4 separate regions of the Homo sapiens genome follow, and regions 1, 3 and 4 are each linked to region 2. The links are contacts of gene promoters, found by promoter capture Hi-C in blood cells and fetal thymus (Javierre and others, 2016). All regions are on one chromosome and are shown on one strand. Each heading gives the region's core, a stretch centred on a gene start or on the middle of the fragment in contact. The rest is flanking DNA. Distances are from core to core; before and after follow the strand shown. Region 1 overlaps LOC124902917 (a long non-coding RNA gene). Region 2 holds the start of CPNE8 (copine 8). Region 3 has its middle 95 kb from the start of ALG10B. Region 4 has its middle 270 kb from the start of ALG10B.

Region 1 (5,449 bases), core at 824-3,323, 300 kb after region 2:
AATGTGAAACAGAGACAAATCAAATCTCTAAGAAAAATATAATTAATAAAATTATGAATACAAAGGACAGATTATACAGAACAGTAAATTCAACTAAAGAGGGATAGTATATAGAAAAATCAATTTAGTGATGTATATAGTGAGATAAAGAGATGAAAATACAGACATGAAAGAGAGTAAATGAAGGTCTAACATATAGTAATAGGAATTCCAGAATTAGCAAGAAAAAAGGTTGGAAAGATCATAGACAAGGGAAGATAATAGTTGATAATTTTCTAATAGTAACATTATTAGTTTTCAGATTGAAGATGTTCAAAATGCCTGATGAGTGAAAACAGAGTCATTGATACGTACGCATCTCACGAAAACTGAAGAATATCAAAGAGAAAAATAAAATTTTACAAGTAAATTTTCTGCTAGTTTCTGTTTCTCCTTTACAGCTGTAGCTCCAATTACATATGTCTTAAACTGTCTTATACTATCACATAGGTCACTGATATTCACTTAATTTTTCTTCAATCTTTATTCTTGCAGTTCTCCAGATTTAATGTTTTCAATTCTGTATCATTGAACTTCACTGATTCTTTTACTTTCTCCAATTTGTTGTTAAGCTGTTCAATTAATTTTGATTCACTTATTATATTTTTAGATTTAAAATTTTTATCTGGCTCTCTTTTATACTTTTTATTTCTTTACTATGACTCCTCATTTTCCCATTCATTAGGACTGTATTTTTTTTTCTTTTTCTTTTCTTTTATTTTTTTAAATGGAATTTCATTCTTGTTGCCCAGGCTGGGGTGTAGTGGCATGATCTTGGCTCACTGCAACCTCCGCCTCCTGGGTTCTAGCAGTTCTCCTGCCTCAGCCTCCCAAGTAGCTGGGATTACAGGCATGCACCACCACGCCTGGCTAATTTTTGTATTTTTAGTAGAGACGGGGTTTCACCATCTTGGACAGGCTGGTCTTGATTTCCTGACCTTGTGATCCACCGGCTTCAGCCTCCCAAAGTGCTGGGATTACAGGCGTGAGCCACCGTGCCCGGCCCTGTATTTTTCTTTTTAAATTTAACTTTTATTTTAAGTTCAGGGGTATATGTGCAGATTTGTTATATAGGTAAACTTGTGTCATGGGGGTTTGTTGTACAGATTACTTTGTTATCAGGTATTAAGCCTAGTAGTCATTACTTATTTTTTTTGATTCTCTCCCTCCTCCCACTCTCAACCCTCCACGGTCTGGTGAGCCCCAGTGTGTGTTGTTCCCCTTTGAGTGGCCATAAGTTCTCATCATTTAGCTCCCACTTATAAGTGAGAACATGTGGTATTTGTTTTTCTGTTCCTGTGTTTGCTTGCTAAGGATAATTGCCTCCAGCTTCATGCGTGTTCCTGTGAAAGACATAATCTTGTTCTTTTTTATGGCTACATAGTATTCCATGGTGTACATGTACTACATTTTCTTTATCCAATCTATCATTGATGGGCATTTAGGTTGATTCCATGTCTTTGCTATTGTGAATAATGCCGCAATGAACATACACATGCCTGTGCATTTATATTAGAACAATTTATATTTTTCAGGTATATAACCAGTAATGGGATTGCTGGGTTGAATGGTATTTCTGTCTTTAGATCTTTGAGGAATCGCCACACTTTCTTCCACAATGGTTGAACTAATTCACACTTCCACCAACAGCATATAAGCATTCCTTTTTCTCCACAACCTTGCCAGCATCTGTTATTTTTTGACTTTTTAATAATAGCCATTTTGACGGGTGTGAGTTGGTATCTCATTGAGGTTTTGATTTGCATTTCTCTAATTATCAATGATGTTGAGCTATTTGTCACATGATTGTTGGCTGCATGCATGTCTTCTTTGGAAAAGTGTCTATTCGTGTCATTTGTCCACTTTTTAATTATTCTTTCTTGTACATTTGTTTAAGTTCTTTATAGATGCTGGATATTAGACTTTTGTCAGAAGCATAGTTTGTAAAACTTTTCTCCCACTCTGTAGGTAGTCTGTTCACTCTGTTGATAGTTTCCTTTGCTGTGCAGAAGCTCTTTAGTTTAATTAGATCCCATTTGTCAATTTTTGCTTTCATTGCAATTGCTTTTGGTGTCTTCATTATGAAATATGTGTCCATTCCTATGTCCAGAATAGTATTGCCTAGGTTGTGTTCCAGGGATTTTATAGTTTTGGGTTTTACATTTAAGTATTTAATCCATCTTGAGTTAATTTTTGTATATGGGATAAGGCTGGGGCCCAGTTTCAGTCTTTTACATATGGCTAACCAGTATCTCAGCACCATTTATTGAATAGGGAATCATTTCCACATTGCTTGTTTTTGTCAGATTTGTCAAAGATCAGATAGTTGTAGGTGTGCAGCCTCATTCTCGTCTAAACAAGGAGCTGAAAGCTCTCTACAAAGAGAACTACAAAACACTGCTCAAAGAAACCAGATATGACACAAACATGGAAAAAACATTCCATGCTCATAGATAGAGAGAATAAATATTATTAAAATGCCAATACTGCCTGAAGCAATTTATAGAATCAATGCTATTTCTATTAAACTATAATTGACATGATTCACAGAACTAGAAAAAGAAACTGTTTTAAAATTCTTATGGAACCAAAAAGGAGCCCAAATAGCCAAGGCAATCCTAAGCAAAAAGAACAAAGCTGAAGGAATTATGCTACCTGATTTCAAACTATACTACAGGGATACAGTAACAAAAACAGCATAGTACTGGTACAAAAACAGACACATAGACCAATGGAACAGAATAGAGAACCCAGGAATATATTTTTCTGTAAACCCTGGATCTATTTATGATTGCTGCCAGAAGGATCTGGTCTCTAGAAGGCTGGAGCATTCCCAGTGTCACTGCTGCTGTGGACTGGGAAATCAGAAAAGGGGCCTCTGGACACTGCACTTGCTGTCCCTCTCCACCACATGCACAGAAGAATTGGTATTTTGATATTGATTGCATTGAGTTTGTAGATTGCTTTGGATAGTATTGACATCTTAAGAATATTGTCTTCCAATACATAAACATGGGATCTTATTCCATTTATTAATTTATTTATCATTTTTCATTCCTTTCAGCAGTGTTTTGTAGTTTTCAGTATACCGTAGTTCCCACATTATCAGTGGTTTAGCATTCTGCCATTTCAGTTACCCAAGGTCATCAAGGTTCAAAAATATTAAATGGAAAATTTCAGAAATAAACAATTCATAAGTTTTAAATTATAGGCCATTCTGAGTAGCATGATGAAATCTTGTGCCATCCTTCTCTGTCCTGCCTGTGATATGAATTATCCCCTTGTCTAGTGCATCCACACTGTATATACTACCTGCCCATGAGTCACTTAGTAGCTTACTCAGTTATCAGACTGATTGCTGCATTATTGCAATGATTGTGCCAAAGTAATCCTTATTTTACTTAATACTGGTCCCAAGGTGCAAGAGCAGTGATGCTGGCATATTGTTATAATTGTTATGTTTTATTATTTGTTATTGTTGTTAATCTCTTACTGTGTTTAATTTATATCGTGGGTATGTACATACAGAAAAAAATCATTGTGTGTGTGTGTGTGTGTGTGTGTGTGTGTAGGTTTTATTGCTATCTGTACTTTCAGGGATTCACTGGGCATCTTGAAATGTGTGCCTCTCAGAAAAATCAGGACTAGTGTACAAGTCTTTTACCTTTTGTGTTGGGTTAACTCCTAAGTATTTTATTATTTTAATGCTTTTGTAGATGGAATTGTTTTCTTAATTTCGTTTTTGGATTGCTTATTAGTTCTGTATATGTCTGTTAGAGATACTCATTTTATTGTGTTCTCTATTTTTTTTAACTTATCTTCTGTCTGGTTGATCTATCTATTATTGAGAGCAGGGTATTAAAGCCTCCAACTATTATTAGTGCATAGACAATCAGCTTATTTTTGCATGTGGATTTTGTATTCTGTTAATTTTCTGTATTTGTTTATTATTTCTTTTATTTTCTTTCTTTTTTTTTTCTTTTTGAGACAGAGTCTCTTTCTTCCACCCAGGCTGGAGTGCAGTAGCGTGAACTTGGCTCACTGCAACCTCCACCTCCCAGATTCAAGCAATTCTCCCTGCCTCAGCCTCCCGAGTAGCTGGGATTACAGGCATCTGCCATCACACACAGATAATTTTTGTATTTTTTTTAGTAGAGACGGGGTTTTGCCATGCTGGCCAGGCTGGTCTTGAACTCTTGACCTCAGGTGATCCACCTGACTTGGCCTCCCAAAGTGCTGGGATTACAGGTGTGAGCCATCATGCCTGGCCTGTTTATTATTTCTAACAGTTTTCTTGTGTAATCTTTGGGGAATTCTACATGTAAGATCATATCATCTAAGTACAATGATAATTTTATTGTTTCCTTTCAAATTTTGATGCCTTTTACTTCTTTTTTCTTGCTGAATTGCTCTGGCTAGGATTTCCAGTACCATGTTGAACAATAGAAGTGGTGAGAGTAGGCATCCTTGCCTTATTCTTCATCTTAGAGGAAAAAATTTTAATCTTCCACCATTGGACACTGAGTATAATGTTCACTGTAGCTTTTCATAAATATTTTTATCCTTTCTGTTAATGTGGTTTATACATTAATTAATTTTTGAATGATGAGGCATCCTTGCATTATAGAAATAAACCTCACTTGGATTTTTGTATTCATGTGCATCAGGGATATTGGTTTGAAGTTTTTTTTACTTGTAATGTCTTTTTCTGGCTTTGGTATCAGGGCAATATTGTCCTCATAGAATGAGTTAGAACGTGTTCCCTCTATTTCGAATTTTGGAAAAATTTGAGAAGGATAGATGTTAGTTCTTAAAGTGTTTGGTAGATGCTATGGTTTGAATGTATCCCCCAAAGTTCATGTGTTGGAAACTTGATCCCCAGTGCAGTGTATTGGGTAATGAGACCTTTAAGAGCTGTTTAAGTCATGAGGGCTCCACCCTCATGAATGAATTAATGCTTTTATCACGAGAGTGGGTTTGTTATAAAAGGGGGAATTCAGCCCCCTTTTCTCCTTCTTGCCCATGTGATGTCTTCTGCCAGGTTGTGATACAGCAAGAAGGCCCTCACAAGATGCCAGCCTCTTGACCTTGGACCTCTCAGCCTCCATAACTGTCAGGAGATAAATTTCTGTTCTTTGCAAGTGATTCGGTCTCACGTATTATGTTATAGCAGCAGAAAAGAAACAAACACAGTAGAATTTACCAGTGAAGCTATTTGGTCTAGAGCTTTTTCTTTTTTAGGAGTTTTTGATTACTGATTAAATCTCCTTACTAGTTATAGGTCTATTCAGATTTTGCATTTCTTTGTTATCCAGTTTTTGTAGGCTTTATGTTTCCAGGAATGTGTTCATTTCATCAGAGTTATCCGATTTGTTCATATACAAAGTAATCTCCCATAATTATTTATATT
Region 2 (5,377 bases), core at 1,592-4,091:
CCACATGAGATATTACTACACATCTGTTAGATAAGCTAAAATTTAAAAGACCATCATAAATGTTGGCAAGGATGTGTGCAACCAGATCTCTTATATACTGTTGTGGTAAAGAAAAGTAGTAAAACTCTTTTGAAAAAAAAGTTTAATAGTTTCTTTTTCTTTTTGAGACAGAGTCTCGCTCTGTCCCTAGGCTGGAGTGCAGTGGCGCGATCAATCTCCACTCACTGAAACCTCTGCCTCAGGGGTTCAAGAGATTCTCCTGCCTCAGCCTCCGGAGTAGCTGGGACTATAGGCGCACACCACCATGCCCGGCTAATTTTTGTATTTTTGGTAGAGACAGGGTTTCACCACGTTAGCCAGGATGGTCTCGATCTCTTGACCTCATGATCCGCCCACCTCACCCTCCCAAAGCGCTGGGATTACAGGCATGAGCCACCGCACCTGGCCTTAATAGTTTCTTAAAAAGTTAAACATACACATTCCATATGATCCAGCTGTTCCACTCCTAGGTACTTACCCAGAAGTAATGAAAACATACGTCCACAGAAAGAGTTGTACATATATGTTCATATCAGTTTCATTTGTAATTGCCCAAAGTTCGAACAACCAAAGTGTCCATCATCAGGTGAATGGACAATTTATAGCGCATATATACAATGAAATAAATTAAAAATTTATTTCATTAAATAAATGAAATTTATTAATTTAAAATAAATTAAAAATTTATTTCTTTGTATATATGAATAAATATTTAAAAAGTAGAATGAACTATTGATGCTAACATAGATGAATCTCAAAAGAACTTTGCTTAGTGGAAGAAGCCAGACCAAAAATACTACCTGCTTTATGATTCCACATACATAATTTTTAAAAATGCAAACTCTTCTATAGTGACATAAAGATCAGTGGTTGCTTAGAGGGTTGTTTCAGTGATGAAAGGAGGTACTGATTACGACGTAAGAAAACTTTTGGGTGATGGAATGATTCATTATTTTGATTTTGGTGATGGCTTCACAGGGAGATACATGAGTCAACATTTATCGAATGATGGATGCACTTTAAGTGCAGTTCATTATATATGTTATACCTCACTGAAGTGGAAACAAATTGGATGTAAGTATCCCACATGTTGACTACTAAAGTTCTCAAGTTTCATCTCTTCAGTAGGCTTCTGTAAAGTAAAATTCTGGTGAGCTTAAAAAAAAACCTAGATCTCTATGCCAAATTAACTTTGAGCAGCATAATAGAAATGCCTGGGGTTTTAGGGCATTTCCAAATCGCAGTAAACTACAGTTTAATTTGTAATAGGACAAGAGGAAGGAAAAAAAAAGAAGAAAAAGCGGTGGGTGGGGAAATCAGGAAAGGAAAGCAAGAAGAAACAGGGGAAGTACACTCGGCAGGGGAATCGGCAAGACTGCACCTACACACTCTCACCCGCCTCTATAGATTCTCTAGGCAGGAGGCTGCAAGTGGATTAAAATGTTACAACGCAAGGCAAGTCCTCCACCGCAAAAACTGCTCCTCCCAGACTTAGCCCAACCAGCTGGAAACTCCGTGCTTGGAGCGTTAAATCGGACGGACACCCGCCCCCTCTCCACCCTCTGCCTTCCAGCTGCGCCGCATCCTGTTCTCCGTCGCCGCCTGGTGGCGAGCTCCCGGGACCCGCAGGCGCTCGGGTGAGGCAGGAGGGAAGGCGCGGGGAACAAAGGTCCCTGCAGTGGAGGGGCGCCTCGTCTACCTCCGGATGCTTTTGCCACGACTCCGTCTTGGCACCAGTCTTGCTGCCCTGGAATGCAGTTTCCCAAACGCAGCGCTCACTCTGACTCCTCTCTGCTTTTATCCGTCAGGTCTCAGTTCTTGCGGGTGGGAGTCGGCTGAAGGAGCTGCGTTATATGGTTGTGACATCACCCTCCCCGGCCCCCATTTTCAGGTCAGAACTTTCATGCCTTTGGAAACGAGGGACCCAGAAGAGCCCTTACTGTAGGAGGAATGTCGCCGTTAGACCTCTAAGCTCCGAAGAACCAAGGGGAGACAGAATCCAGATTGCTTCCTTAAATCCCAAGTAGTATTGTTTTTTCCACCTTAGAGTCCGCCCCCCCGCCCCCACTTGTCCCATATATTGATCGGCCACTTTGCCACCGTGTTCCAAGGTTGGAGAGCGTCACAATGCCCCACCGTCCCCAACTCTCAAGTGGCCGACAGTGGGCAGTCCAGAAGCTGGGACCAGACTCATCTGCCCGAGGGCACAGTAGGAGGGACGGAGGGATCTCCCAAGAGCTCCGAGGGCGAGGTGAGAACCAATTGTGGGGAGGGGGACCTTATAACGGGGCAGTTAGGAACGGGCAGAGGTGCCCCCACCTCCAGCTTTCAACTCAGGCGAGGAAACTTCGAGACCTTCCCGTCCACACCTGATTGACAGAAGGAAGCTGTCGCGGCCCAGGAGGCGAGTGTGGGTGTGCAGAGGTGGAGACAAAACCTAAAAGCACGCAGAGCCGGCGAGGGCTTGCGGTCCTGGACGGTAGGGGTCTGCGTCTGGTGCCACCTTCTCCATCAGGCTGCTTGCTGGGTCCACCAAGCCTGACCCCTCCAGCCAGGAGGGGATCACGGAGTGTGTCCCCCGCCCGGGCTGCTGCCTGCCGGAAGGGGGCTGGGAAACCGGGATCCCCGCGCGCCACTTGCCTGGCAGCGTCAGTTTCACCCAGGACTGGCTAGCGGTTCCCTCGTGGCTCTGCGCGGAGGTCCGCCTCCTCCCTTCCCTCCCCCATCCCGCGCGCTGCCTCCGCCTCCTTCTTCTGCCTCCACCCTCAACCCCCATCCCCGCCTGACGGGAGCTAGCCCTCAGTCCGCCCGAGCTGTGGTTGTGGGCGCCGGACAAGTCCAAGGCGCCTCCTCCCAATATGGACAGCCGCTACAACAGCACTGCGGGCATCGGGGACTTGAACCAGCTGAGCGCTGCCATCCCGGCCACGCGGGTGGAGGTGTCCGTGTCCTGCAGGTGAGGACGCAGCCCTTCCCCTCTCTCCTGCCCTCTCATCTGTGGGGTTGGTAGCACTTGGAGAGCGCTCGGGGTACCACGAGGCTTTGCGCAGGCAAGAAGTTGCGCCATGAGTGGGAAATATCTCAGTAGTGGGGCTGGAGTTACCCCGGGTCAGGTGACACAGGGGAGCGGGAATTAGAAGCGGTGGGCTCCGGGACTGAGACTTTGTATTTTCTTTCTGGGAAACGCTGTAAAAGTTGGCTGGGCTGTGACTCAGCTGTGGGAACACCGGCCGCCGCCCACTTTACAAGCCGGTTTTCCGCCCCAAACCCGGGCTGGATGGTTGGGTGATGACCGGAATCGAAGGGGACAGCACTGCCAAAAGCTCTTGTGACCGCTGCACGCTTAGGCCCGGGACTTCCTCTGCTAGGCGTGTGCAAACCTGCTGTTGCTAGGGTTGGCTCCAACCCCGGCAGCTTCCTCCCCACCCACTTCCTGGAGCCTTCCAGCTTGCTTCTCCCCGACCCTTCCGGGCTTTTTGCCTTTTGCCTGATAGGTAGAGATTTCGGCCCTCCTTGCAGACGAATCTATGCCTTACCTAAGATCTGGGAAGTCACGACTTTTGTTTTGATTTGTTTTCGGGCCCACATCTGAGTGCTTGTAAAAACTGACTCTCGGCCGGGCGCAGTGGCTCAGTACAGTTTATACGCCTGTATTCCCAGCACTTTGGGAGGCCAAGGCGGGTGGATCACGAGGTCAGGAGTTCGAGACCAGCCTGGCCAATATGGTGAAACTCCGTCTCTACTAAAAATGCAAAAATTAGCCGGACGTGGTGGCACGCGCCTGTAGTCCCAGCTACTCGGGAGACTGAGACAGGAGAATCGCTTGAACCCGGGATGTGGATGTTGCAATGAGCTGAGATCTTGCCATTGCACTCCAGCCTGGGCGACAGCGCAAGACTCCATCTCAAAAAAAAAAAAAAAACAAAAAAAAACTGACTTTCAACCCTGTCCAGAGACTGTAAATTGCAAACTCGTTGTCCTGACCTTTCGGTTAGTTGCCCTGTAAATAAAGCAGCATCACCGCTATATCATAGATGATTTTGAGAAGGAGATGAGCGATGGTGCTAAATTGGTACTGGCCACTAATTTGCGAATTAATATTGACCCTGGAGCCCACTCCCTTGTTTGCATAATTGGGTCTGTCTCACTGGAAAACTGGCTCCTCATTTATCCATTTTTGCCCTAAGATTGTTTTTATGCCCTCACATCCTCCCTTTCCTTTCCTTAGCAAACTTGCCTTGAAGATATCTAACAAATTTGGGTGATCTTGATGTAAATAAGTTTAAAATTCCATCAATCTTGACTTTGCATTTTCACAAACTGAGCCTAAAGCCAAAGGAATTCTTTTCTGGGGGTGAAAATTCGAGCACCAGCAACCGTAGTAGAAGTATTATTTGAGGGTAGGGGACAGCCTTTATCTAGCCCTGAAACTATATCACCTGATTGTTTGCCGCCTCTTAAGACTGATCTGGGACTATGGAAATAATCATGCTGATAATGATAGCTATCATTAAGCTCTTGCCTCATTGCTGTCACTGCTTTAAGTGCTGCCTGAGATTTTTCTGTCAATGGAACAGGTGAAGCTGTTTGGAAAACTCTTTAGAGGATTCCTAGGCCTTTTTCTTTTCTCTGAAGCTTGCTTTCGATGTTAGAGGGAAGTTACTGGTATATACAGATAATGGATAGCCGGAAGTCCTACAATAACAGCATTACTAGAGTTCTTATCCTCTGCTCAACAGTCTGCAAAGTCTGAATGGCATGTGGCCTATACTTGGAATGAATATAAAAGAATATTGTCAATCAAGTCTGAATTTTTCCATGAGCTTTTTAAGGGAAATTATACCTAAACTGGTCATTCTGCCAGTAGGGCCCATGTTTAATGCAGCCCCTTTTTTGATGCATGTTTTCTGTGAGTGTGCTGGGCATACTGAAGTCAATTGGCTTAAGGCAATTTGTTTCAGTTTGCTGCCTCAGAACCTGCAAATCCCTTGTTCCAGCTTTTTTTCATAACATTGCTTTGACATTTTGTTTTTAATTTTTAAGATTTCTAACAGGAAAAAAAAATCCTGAAAGAGAACCTGAATACTTAGTGTCAAGCATCTCTGCCAGGGGCACTAGTGCTTAGTCTATTGTTTGAGTTGCTTCTGACTCAGCTTACTATTTACGATAAGTTTGAGGTAAAAAGCATCTTTTGGGCAAAGAGAAACATAATTAAATACCCAAGTTAGTGCCTTTGGAATAGGTTTGGGAATAGTTCCTGAAAAGGTGGGTTAAATTTATTTTTAATACATTAAAATTCAAAGATAAAAATATTTGAGTATTGTTGGATCTTGTAACC
Region 3 (5,269 bases), core at 1,928-4,427, 490 kb after region 2:
CAATTTTACATGTGTTCCTAGGTTTTAATTAAACATTGTTATTGGCCGGGCACGGTGGCTCACGCCTGTAATCCCAGCACTTTGGGAGGCCGAGGTGGGTGGATCACCTGAGTTCGGTAGTTCTAGACCAGCCTGACCAACATGGAGAAACCCCGTCTCTACTGAAAATACAAAATTAGCCGGGTGTGGTGGCACATGCCTGTAACCCCAGCTACTCGGGAGGCTGAGGCAGGAGAATTGCTTGAACCTGGGAGGCAGAGGTTGCAGTGAGCCGAAATCGTGCCATTGCACTCCAGCCTGGGCAAAAAGAGTGAAACTCTGTTTCCAAAAAAGAAAAAAAAAAAAACATTGTTTTTATACTCACTCCTAAACCCATCTAATTTTTGCTCTTCTTGTTTCTGATATCTCTTCCAGCAAAGACCATTAAATCTTGTTTTTCTTTTCCTAATAACTTGTGTCAATTCTGGAGCATGTATGGTTTTTCTGCTGATTTGCTTATAGATACCTTTTTTTGTAGTTAACCATTAGATATTTTGTAGCTATAATTGAAGGAGAAGACTGGCCCCTATTAATTATTACATATAAGCTTTGCTTTCTTCATGACATGCATAAGATTTTATTCTGAGGTTACATACATCTCTATGTTATTTCTACAGAAAGAGAGAAAAAGCTTGAGGCAGTACAAAAGATTCTCATTTTATTAGACATATTAACAACATACAGAAATATTTGTATTCCCCTGGTATGTCTTACTGACTTATGCTATTCTTGGTAACTTGGCAAAATCTTTGAAATAGAGAACATTAATTTTCACCTTTGATATGCCTTGAAAGAAATCTTAGGCAATTGTTTGAATACCAAAACAGCTCTGTGAAGAGCTGCGCATTCAAGGTGAGAAAACACTTTTTAACAATATTTTTTGGTGGTAACATTATAGAGGCAGCTAAGAAACATACGGTTGTCATCACATAGCAATCTAGAAAAGAAAGAGGACAGACTATAACAACCAGATTATTTATTCAAGGACATATATTAACACTTCAAATGCTATGCAAACAAGTTTGCATGTGGGGGTGGGGGTTGCGGAGGAGTTTCCCAAAGCCATGATTAGAATTATTTCCTAAGGAGGTAAAGTTTGAATCAGGTAGTAACTGAAAAAAGAGTAGAGTATGAATTGATAGATAATGAGCGACAAAAAGACAAAGAAGCAAGAAAAACGAGTAAGAGAGAGGCAGAGTAGATTTGCTTTTTTGAATGCTATAGTAGGTGATATGATGGCTCAAGAAAATAAAATAAAATAAAGAAATTTAAATAAGGGGCTTGATTATCTGTCTCAGATATATTGGGCAAAGGAAATCCTTTCTTAGTTTTAGTATATAGATATGAGTGATCAAAATGGAATTTGCGGGAAATGATTCTCACTTTAAGAATAGGATGGATTGAAAGGAGGATAAGTTAGACACTAAGAAAGTGAAATACTAGGTGGTAGATATCAAATGGCTGAAAACTAATTAGGATTGAGCTAGCAAAATATCAAGAAAAAGAATGAAGAACATTGTATCTGATATTTATCAACAGATAGACAATGTTGGGTGATGAATGAAAGATGGTGATAAAATTAAAAAAAAGTATTCAATCATTTATTCCTTCCTTAAGTCTATCACTTATTTCTTCATTTTTCCAAGCATTCATTAAGACATTTTAGATTACAATAAAGAGAAAAAGAATCAGATTGCTGACCCCTGACTACTTATAAGTTTCTTTCAAATAGCTTAATGTGAAGCTCAGATTCTTCATCTACACTCTGTTTAAAATAAAATTTTCTCATCCATGAGGATCAAATTAGATATTTATAGTCAACAAAGCCCTTTCACTTCTAACTGAAAGGTACCCAGTCAACATATGTAAACCCTAGTTTTCATGTAGATAACATAGGTAAAATGTTATAAAAAGTATAAGGTCCCATATAAAGTTACTATGTATTATTCTTGTTATTTCATTACATACTTTGGGCACAGCATGTCAGTAAGTTCCCAAGGGAAAGTAAAGGTATGATAAAATGTATTTGCTGCATTCCAAAAGAAATGTGACTAAAATAAAGAGGAGAATAGAGGCATAAAAGCAACACATGATTAAAGCCTTATCATCTAGGGTCCTTGGAAAGACCATATGGAGGAGTTAGGATTTGAATTAGGGATTAAAATCTGAATAGGATTTAGTTAGGTAGATACATTGTAAAATATGATGACCTTGCAGGTTTTCCCTCAATGCCTTCAGAGAAGGGCTTGTTTACCTTTAAAAAAAATTTCATTTTCAAGTCTAATCAAACACTGCATCTAAACCATTCTAGAATGTTTCAAAGGTAACAAAAATTGATCATTGGGTGAGGTTCAACCTAATATAGCTGTAGCTAGTCAAAGACTTAAATCAAAGGTGGGAAAAGATCTTTGAGTCACCCAAGTTAAAGACAGAATCATAAAGGGAAGGCTTCATTTGAAATAGAATGCAAAATTTCCAACAGAACTGTCACAATGAATGTTCTTAGCATGAGGTAAATTGCACTTTAAGTCGTAAAACATAAATAAGGACATGGTGTAACTATAAAAGTTTCACCGTAAGAAAATTAGTGTTCAACTTTTAATTAAGAATGATTTCAAAAATGCTTGCTGTCTATGAAAGCAAGTTTTCCACTTGCCCCAATAGCATTGTTATCCAATGTACCGTTTGGAGGTTATGTAAGAACTTATCATGGGAGCTCAGTCTCATTGTGTTGCTGAGCAACAACTTCCCCTTTCATACATCTGACAACTTTGCTGGCAGGAAAACTTTGTTTAAGATTGAACTTCACTGTTTTTCATTTAAAAAGAAATTGGGAGACCAATAAACTGTTCTTTGTTCTCTACTGAGTTATTGTTATAGTACTTAGTTAGCTATTTTCTCTCTGTTGATACTGCAAGGAGAATATTTCTTTTTATGAAATCATGACTAGAATTTAATTAATTAATTAATTTTTTTTTTTCGAGACGGAGTCTCACTCTGTCACCAGGCAGGAGTGCAGTGGTGTGATCTCGGCTCACTGCAACCTCAGCCTCCCGGGTTCAAGTGATTCTCCTGCCTCAGCTTTCAGAGTAGCTGGAACTACAGGCGTGCGCCACCACGCCCAGCTAGTTTTTGTATTTTTAGTAGAGATGGGTTTTCACCATGTTGGCCAGGATGGTCTTGATCTCTTGACCTCATGATCCGCCTGCCTCAGCCTCCCAAAGTGCTGGGATTACAGGCGTTAGCCACCATGCCCAACCAGAATTTAATATTTTTAAGTAACAGTATTTTTGGTTTGTTTAAAAATAAAGGAAAATTTTCTTCTAAAATAAGAAGTCCATTATAATATAGTTCAAGTATGGAGTGAATAACACAATTCTTCTTAGCTAGTAATGAGCACTAAAATGTATTTGGTACTTACTACATGCTGTGTATTGTGTTAGGCATATTATTTTCATTATTTCAGGTTTCTGCTTAAATGTCACCTTATCAGAGAACACTAGTCTGTCCACCTTAACTATTTAAAATAGCACACTCCTCCACTCATAATTATTGGTCCCTTTACCTATCTTGCTTTGTTCAAAGGACTCTTTTTTACCACCGAATATATTATATGTTTAGCTGTTAAACTGCTTGTCATATGCTTACTCCCTCTAGAACTATGCTGTCCCATACAGTAACCACTGGACACATGTGGATATCAAACTTTTCTATAGAGTCTTTATAATAATAAAAGCAATAGGTACATCATGCTGCCTCAGTCAGTTTGGGATACTATAATGAAAAACCCATAATCTAGGTGGATTAAAATGAACAGAAATTTAATTTTCACAGTTTGGGAGACTAGGAAGTCTAAAACTCAAGGCACCAGCAGACTCAGCGTCTGGTAAGGTTATGCTTTCTGGCGTCTAAATAGGCATTCTTCATCTGTCCTCACTTGACAGAAGAGGCAAACAACTTCCCTCAGTTCTCTTTCATGAGGGCACTCATGCCATTCATAAGGAAAAAGCCCTCTTGACCTAATCCCCTTGCAAAGGCCCCACCTCCTAACACTATCACCTTTGACGTTAGTTTCAATACATGAATTTTGGGGGTATACAAACATTCAGATCATATCGCACACAGCATAATACTAGTGAAATGGATGCATGTTAGTTTAAAAGTTAGTTCCATTATATGAACATGGTTAATAATAATAAAGTTTATGATTTCAGTGTCTAAGTATGCCAGTTTTGTAACCCATGATTGCATAAATTCTGCTAAAAGATTTCTTATTTGGGAGGTGTAAGGCAACATCTAACTCCAGTAAGACTCACTTGAGGTAGTAATAATGAACTGGCTTCCAAAATCTTTGAAATTTATTGCCTCATTTGTGTAAAGATATTAAGAGACTAGGAGTTGTTAGGAGGAATTCATTTTCATCAATCCACAAGATCCACAACTTTAATAATTAAGCCATTTCTACAGTCTTTTCAAACTACATTTTCAATTTTATTTATCCATGTTCTCCCTAGAGGAATATAGAATATACTCTTTATATACTAATATTCAGACTATGAAAAGAACAGAGATCACTTGAGCCTGGTAAACCCTCCCTGACAGCACATCCTGTTCCTACTCCTGCCCACCGTCATTGTAGACAAAATTCTTTAATCAGAACTGACAGTTATAGTCTTGTGAACAGTGACTCTCAAACACTCAGATGAGCAGAGAGAGGAAATGTCACCAGATATTTGGTTCCCAGGAAAAGAAATTAGCCACAAACTTAATAGACCAAAGAACTAATACTGTTGAGAGAGAAGAACAAACACAAAGTTAAATTAAGTATAATGTGTTTAATGAGGTTTTATGAGGTTTTGAGTAGATATTAAATCCATGAAAAAGAAACAACTAGAGACAAAGGAATTTAAAATATAATTTTTAAAGTCTCATTAGTTGTCTTCGATTATAAAAATAGATACAGCTAAGAAAGAAGTTATAACTGGAAATGAACATGAAAGGTTTCCACAGTATGAGGTGCAAATGTATAATCTGACAGTAAAAGGCTATATATATGAAGAAAAAAAATCAGAAGTTTTGAAATCTATCTAGAAGCATATACAGAATTCAAAACAGAGAATGAGCAAAGGCAAATAATAAAATGGAAAAATTATTTAGTGGCTATGTGGTAATTTAGACAGAAATGCTTTTCAAATATGTGAATAGGGGTTTAAAAAGACGCCAACATATG
Region 4 (5,202 bases), core at 406-2,905, 320 kb after region 2:
AAATTATAAAATCTGAATAAATAAATAGAATCTATTTTTGGGGAAAACTAGAAGTCAACGAAAACTCCAGATTCTCAAATAGCTGGAATGATGCTCAAAAGAATAGAAATAGAACAGGTGGACCCCTGAAAGAAAGTGGAGGAAACAAGGATCCCACTGGAAAAGTTGGCTTTGACTGTAGATTTCAGGAAGAACCAGTAAGAATACCACTATTTAAACTGAGAGGCCTACCCTGAAGTGTAAAACCGAAGTCCACACTGTGCAATATGAAGAGCAGCATGACAGAGTGTAGTCTTTCTATCAGGAAAAAGAAAAATCCATGGCTACTTATTCTTGTTGGTTGTAGAGAAGTCACAGCTAAACAATCCTCAGGTAGATCATGGTAATGGGATGTATCCCGTGTCTCACATGAAAATTCTGAAATAGCAAATCCAGAAAAATACACAACAACAAGAAAACTACAATAAGGAAAAAACTTATTGAAATAAAGAATAAGTTTAAAAGGCAGGGTAGTGGGAGAAACAGAAAAAGAAAACGAAGATGAAGGATGTTGTGGCAGCTGTTGCTTTTCAACTTCTGTCGCGGTCCCCTAAACCTAATTTCATCCGTTTTGTGAGCAAAAGAATCCTAATTTATAGTTGTCATGGCCCATCCAGCTGAGAAACTATGTCTCCCAGTTTCTTTTAAAGATACACATGGCTCCTTGACTAAGTTTGGGTCAAAGAGATATATAAGCAGAAGTGTTAGGTGGAATTTTGAAGAATTACTTGAAAAGAAAGTGATACTTTCTTCTCCCCCTCATCCTCCACAGTTGAATTTCTAGCCAGAATGAGATACAATGAGTCAGAATGATCGTAGGTAATTTTGTGGGCACTCACCAGCTCCAGGCTACCGGATACCAATCTCCTTTTGTTTGTTTGTACATGAATTGGGGATAAATTTTATTTGTGCTACAGTCCTTTGGGGTTTTACTGTTACATTCAGCTGGAAACAAACAACAGAGAAGTGTTCTCATGGAACAAGTAAAAATTTTCATTTGCCAAGACTTTGCTTATTATTAAAATACAGAAATAAACTAAACATTCTATAAAACAAGTGTATAAAACAAAAATGTAAGTACTCAAGGAGAAAAATGATATGATAGCAGCAGGAAATAAAAAGAAATTGGCATAATTCAGGAAAGAAGTAAAAGGAAAAAATATAAAGCCATCACAAAAAGCAGGACAAATTTTGAGGATCACAGTGAGAATAAACACTGTAGAAAACAATTAAAGACATTGATGACAAACTAAAATGAAAATAATAAAGGAGTTTTAAAGGATTAGAGAAAATAATAGCTATGGAGATCAACAAAATATATTATAATATTCATAATTATTCTTCTATGAAGTTAACTGAAATGATTGAACAGAACAAATATTTAAAGATATACTTTTTAAAATAAAAGAGGATTTGAATGGATATACTGTTTCCCATGAAAATTTACCTAAAAATTAACAAAGGCACATCCTGGTAAATATACTGCACTTCCAAGATAATGATGGTATTCTTTTTTTTTTTTTTTTTTTTTTTTTGAGACGGAGTCTTGCTCTGTCGCCCAGGCTGGAGCGCAGTGGCATGATCTCGGCTCACTGCAAGCTCCGCCTCCCGGGTTCACGCCATTCTCCTGCCTCAGCCTCCCGAGTAGCTGGGACTACAGGCACCCGCCACGACGCCCGGCTAATTTTTTGTATTTTTAGTAGAGACGGGGTTTCACCGTTTTAGCCGGGATGGTCTCGATCTCCTGACCTCGTGATCCGCCCGCCTCGGCCTCCCAAAGTGCTGGGACTACAGGCGTGAGCCACCGCGCCCGGCCAATGATGGTATTCTTTAGGCAACAGGTAGATAGATAAAGTCACTTATGAAGTGTGAAAAAGCCAAGCTAGCCCTAGTCTTCCTTAGACATGAAGGAAGGTAGAGTAATACCTCTGAAATCTTCCAGGAAAAAAGGAGCCAAAGATTTCATACCAAATGTAACTGTATTTCAAGGATAAAATGTTACAGATCAATCATGATCATATAAGAACCAGGTAGTAAAATGTTCCTATAAGACTTTCTTAAGATCAACTTCACCTAACCAAGAAACAATTGGTTAACATTGTCTACAAGTAAGACATAAACACGTGTATTTTAGGGTAGTGGGACATAATATTGCTACTTGTAGGAAGCAGGATTACATGCATTATCAGAACTTTTAGTTATCAAGTAAAATTATAACAAAAACAAAAACCTTCTTAAGATAGAAATATACGAGCAAGGGGAACACAGTAAAGGATTTTATTAAATCTATACAACATATTCTCAAATAAGCTGCAAAAGATATTTCAAAGTACAATAGAATTGTACAACACTGTGAATTTACTAAATGTCGCTATATTGTTCACTTTAAAATGGTTAATTTAATGTTATGTGAATATCATCTAAATTTCAAAAGTACAACAGAATTAAGATCAAACATTCTTGTGATATTATTTAACCTAAATGGGCTATGCTTACCTATTAAAAGAAAAAAACTCAATGGATCACAAAGTGAAACCCAACTAGAATGAACAGAAAGACAGTCTAAAGCAAAGTGTCTCAAAAAGATTGATGTTAAAAAGAATTGACACAACAAAAGAAACTATCATCAGAGCGAACAGGCACCCTACAGAATAGGAGAAAATGTTTGCAATCTATCCATCCCACAAAGGTTTAATGTCCAGAATCTACAAGGAACTTCAACAAATTTACAAAAAGACCCACAATCAACCCCATTAAAAAGTGGACAAAGGACATGAACAGACACTACTCAAAAGAAGATATTCATGTGGCCAAGAAACATTTAAAAAAGCTCAACATCACTGATCATTAGAGAAATGCAAATCAAAACCACAATAAGATACCATCTCACAACAGTCAGAATGGCGATTATTAAAGTCAAGAAACAACAGATGCTGATGAGGTTGCACAGAAATAGGAATGCTTTTACACTGTTGGTGGGAATGTAAATTAGTTCAACCATTGTGTAAGATGGTGTGGTAATTCCTCAAAGATCTAGAACCAGAAATACCATTTGACCCCGCAATCTCTTTACTGGGTATATACCCAAAGGCATATAAATAGAATTACAAAGATACATGCACACATATGTTCATTTGCAGCACTATTCTTTGCAGCAATAGCAAAGACATGAAATCAATCCAAATGCCCATTAATGATAGACTAGGTAAAGAAAATGTAGTACCATGGAATACTATGCAGCCATAGAAAAGAATGAGATCATGTCCTTTGCAGGGATGTGGCTGGAGCTGGAAACCATTATCCTTAGCAAACTAACACAGGAACAGAAAACCAAACATTGCATGTTCTCACTTATAAGTGGGAGCTGAACAATGAAAACACGTGGATACAGGGAGAGGAACAACACACACTGGGGCCTCTCGGGGGTATGGTGAGGGGAGGGAGTGCATTAAGAATAATAGCTAATGTATGCTGGGTTTAATACGTAGGTGATTGGTTGATAAGTGCAGCAAACCACCATGGCACATACTTACCTATGTAGCAAACCTGCACATCCTGCACATGTACCCAGAAATTTAAAATTAGAATTAAAAAAGAATTGACAAATGTGCACTAGAAAATAAAAACAAACAAGGCAGAAATCATATTCACATGAGGCAAAATCTAATTCAGAGCAAAATGCATTACAAGAGACAAAGTAGAATGCTTTATAATGTGGGAAGTAAAGATACAAAAGTTATTAATACATTTTCAATAAACAATATGCCATCAACATTCATAAAGAAAAAAACTCCCAGTTACAATGAGAAATAGACACAAAATTACTAATAATGTAAAATTTTGGTTCATTCCTTTTAGTTTATCACAGTCAAGGCACAAAAAAAAAAAAAATGAAAGCTGGCACGTGAGATTTAAATTACACAAATAAAAGGGTAAATATAATTGATTTATACGAAACCCTGAAAAGAGAGAATAGACTGTCCTTTCAAGTGGCTATGGAACTTTTGCAATATGAAATTTTGAAATGCATTTGCCCATGTATTAGAAAGAAATCCTCAGTAAATGTCAAAAAGTAATATTAGATTATGCCCTCCCTTCACTGTGTAAAAATACCTAAAATTAAAAAAAACACACACAGAAAACAAAAGCATTAAAAGCTGATTTAAAAAGCTTTCCCATATAAAATTATTTATTTTAAAAAATCTAAATTGAAATTTAAAATATCCAGTAAATTATAATAGTGAAAATACTGCATATCCAATACATGAAACTTATTAAGACTGTGTTCAGAGTAAAATTTTCAGCTTAAATAATTTAATCAAATGTGGCATTAAAGAATTCCAAAAAGAAAGAAAATAAATGAATTATGCATCCAACTTAAGAAATTTAGAAAAAAATTGTTAAAGCAATAAAATAATAAAATAGTGAGTTAATAAATGGCAAAAGAGAAAAACACTTAAACCAATACATCCAAAAGTTGCTTCTTAAAAGAACAGTAATAAAATAAAGCAATAAAAATGAATTTATTTTTTAAAAGGAGAAATCATAGGTGAGAAAAGGAAGAAGTGATAATATAAACATAACCATATCGAAACAGTCCTAAGACACTGATATGCTCACCCTTTTTAAATATATTTTATGGACAGAGAAAATGGCAAAGTTTAAGTGAAAAACAAAGACCAGAATTGTTATACTTACAATAAAATGAGAAATTTGTCAAGATGCTCGGTCTCACAGTTTTCCAAAATGCACGAAGCTCACATTGTGTCAGAGTAAGTTATAACAATGTTTTGAAAAACAAATATTTTCAAAATAACTTAAAATATTCTCAAACATAGAAAAAAAAAACTTCTAATTATTTCTGTAAAGCCCCCAAAATGTGATATCAAAGCACAAAAGAATCGACTAAAAAGAGAATTAACACTTTTACTTATAAAGAAATACAGGTAGCCCGGCCCGGTGGCTCACGCCGGTAATCCCAGCACTTTTGGAGGCCGAGGCGAGTGGATCACGAGGTCAGGAGATCGAGACCATCCTGGCTAACATGGTGAAACCCCCGTCTCTACTAAAAATACAAGAAATTAGCTGAGCATGGTTACACGCACCTATAGTCCCAGCTACTTGGGAGGCTGAGGCAGGAGAATCACTTGAACTTGGGAGGCA

What was found. Contacts are between HindIII fragments. The CHiCAGO score rates a contact against its expected background, and 5 or more counts as called.
Region 1: a fragment that was not itself captured here is called in contact with the fragment with the promoter of CPNE8 in region 2 in 1 of 17 cell types (M2 macrophages); the score reaches 5.5 in M2 macrophages.
Region 3: a fragment that was not itself captured here is called in contact with the fragment with the promoter of CPNE8 in region 2 in 2 of 17 cell types (monocytes and M2 macrophages); the score reaches 9.7 in monocytes.
Region 4: a contact is called between a fragment that was not itself captured here and the fragment with the promoter of CPNE8 in region 2, in 3 of 17 cell types (M2 macrophages, M0 macrophages and M1 macrophages). The highest score is 6.5, in M2 macrophages.

What each region holds. Positions count from the first base shown.
Region 1 is chr12:38,605,396-38,610,844 of GRCh38, reverse strand. LOC124902917 (a long non-coding RNA gene) reads left to right here. Exons shown (of 2, transcript XR_007063274.1): 2 at 295-409. Among named protein-coding and RNA genes, the nearest start is that of ALG10B, 290 kb to the right of the region's middle. The HindIII fragment of the contact is 7,333 bases long and covers 1-5,449 here.
Region 2 is chr12:38,903,055-38,908,431 of GRCh38, reverse strand. CPNE8 (copine 8) reads left to right here and starts at 2,841. Exons shown (of 20, transcript NM_153634.3): 1 at 2,841-2,995. The coding sequence starts at 2,898. CPNE8-AS1 (CPNE8 antisense RNA 1) reads right to left here and starts at 2,720. Exons shown (of 2, transcript XR_007063275.1): 1 at 1,435-2,720. RefSeq lists an enhancer at 1,297-1,556 and a silencer at 2,687-2,856. The HindIII fragment of the contact is 5,959 bases long and covers 1-4,676 here.
Region 3 is chr12:38,409,129-38,414,397 of GRCh38, reverse strand. No RefSeq gene overlaps it. Among named protein-coding and RNA genes, the nearest start is that of ALG10B, 95 kb to the right of the region's middle. The HindIII fragment of the contact is 5,009 bases long and covers 673-5,269 here.
Region 4 is chr12:38,580,933-38,586,134 of GRCh38, reverse strand. No RefSeq gene overlaps it. Among named protein-coding and RNA genes, the nearest start is that of ALG10B, 270 kb to the right of the region's middle. The HindIII fragment of the contact is 5,113 bases long and covers 1-4,211 here.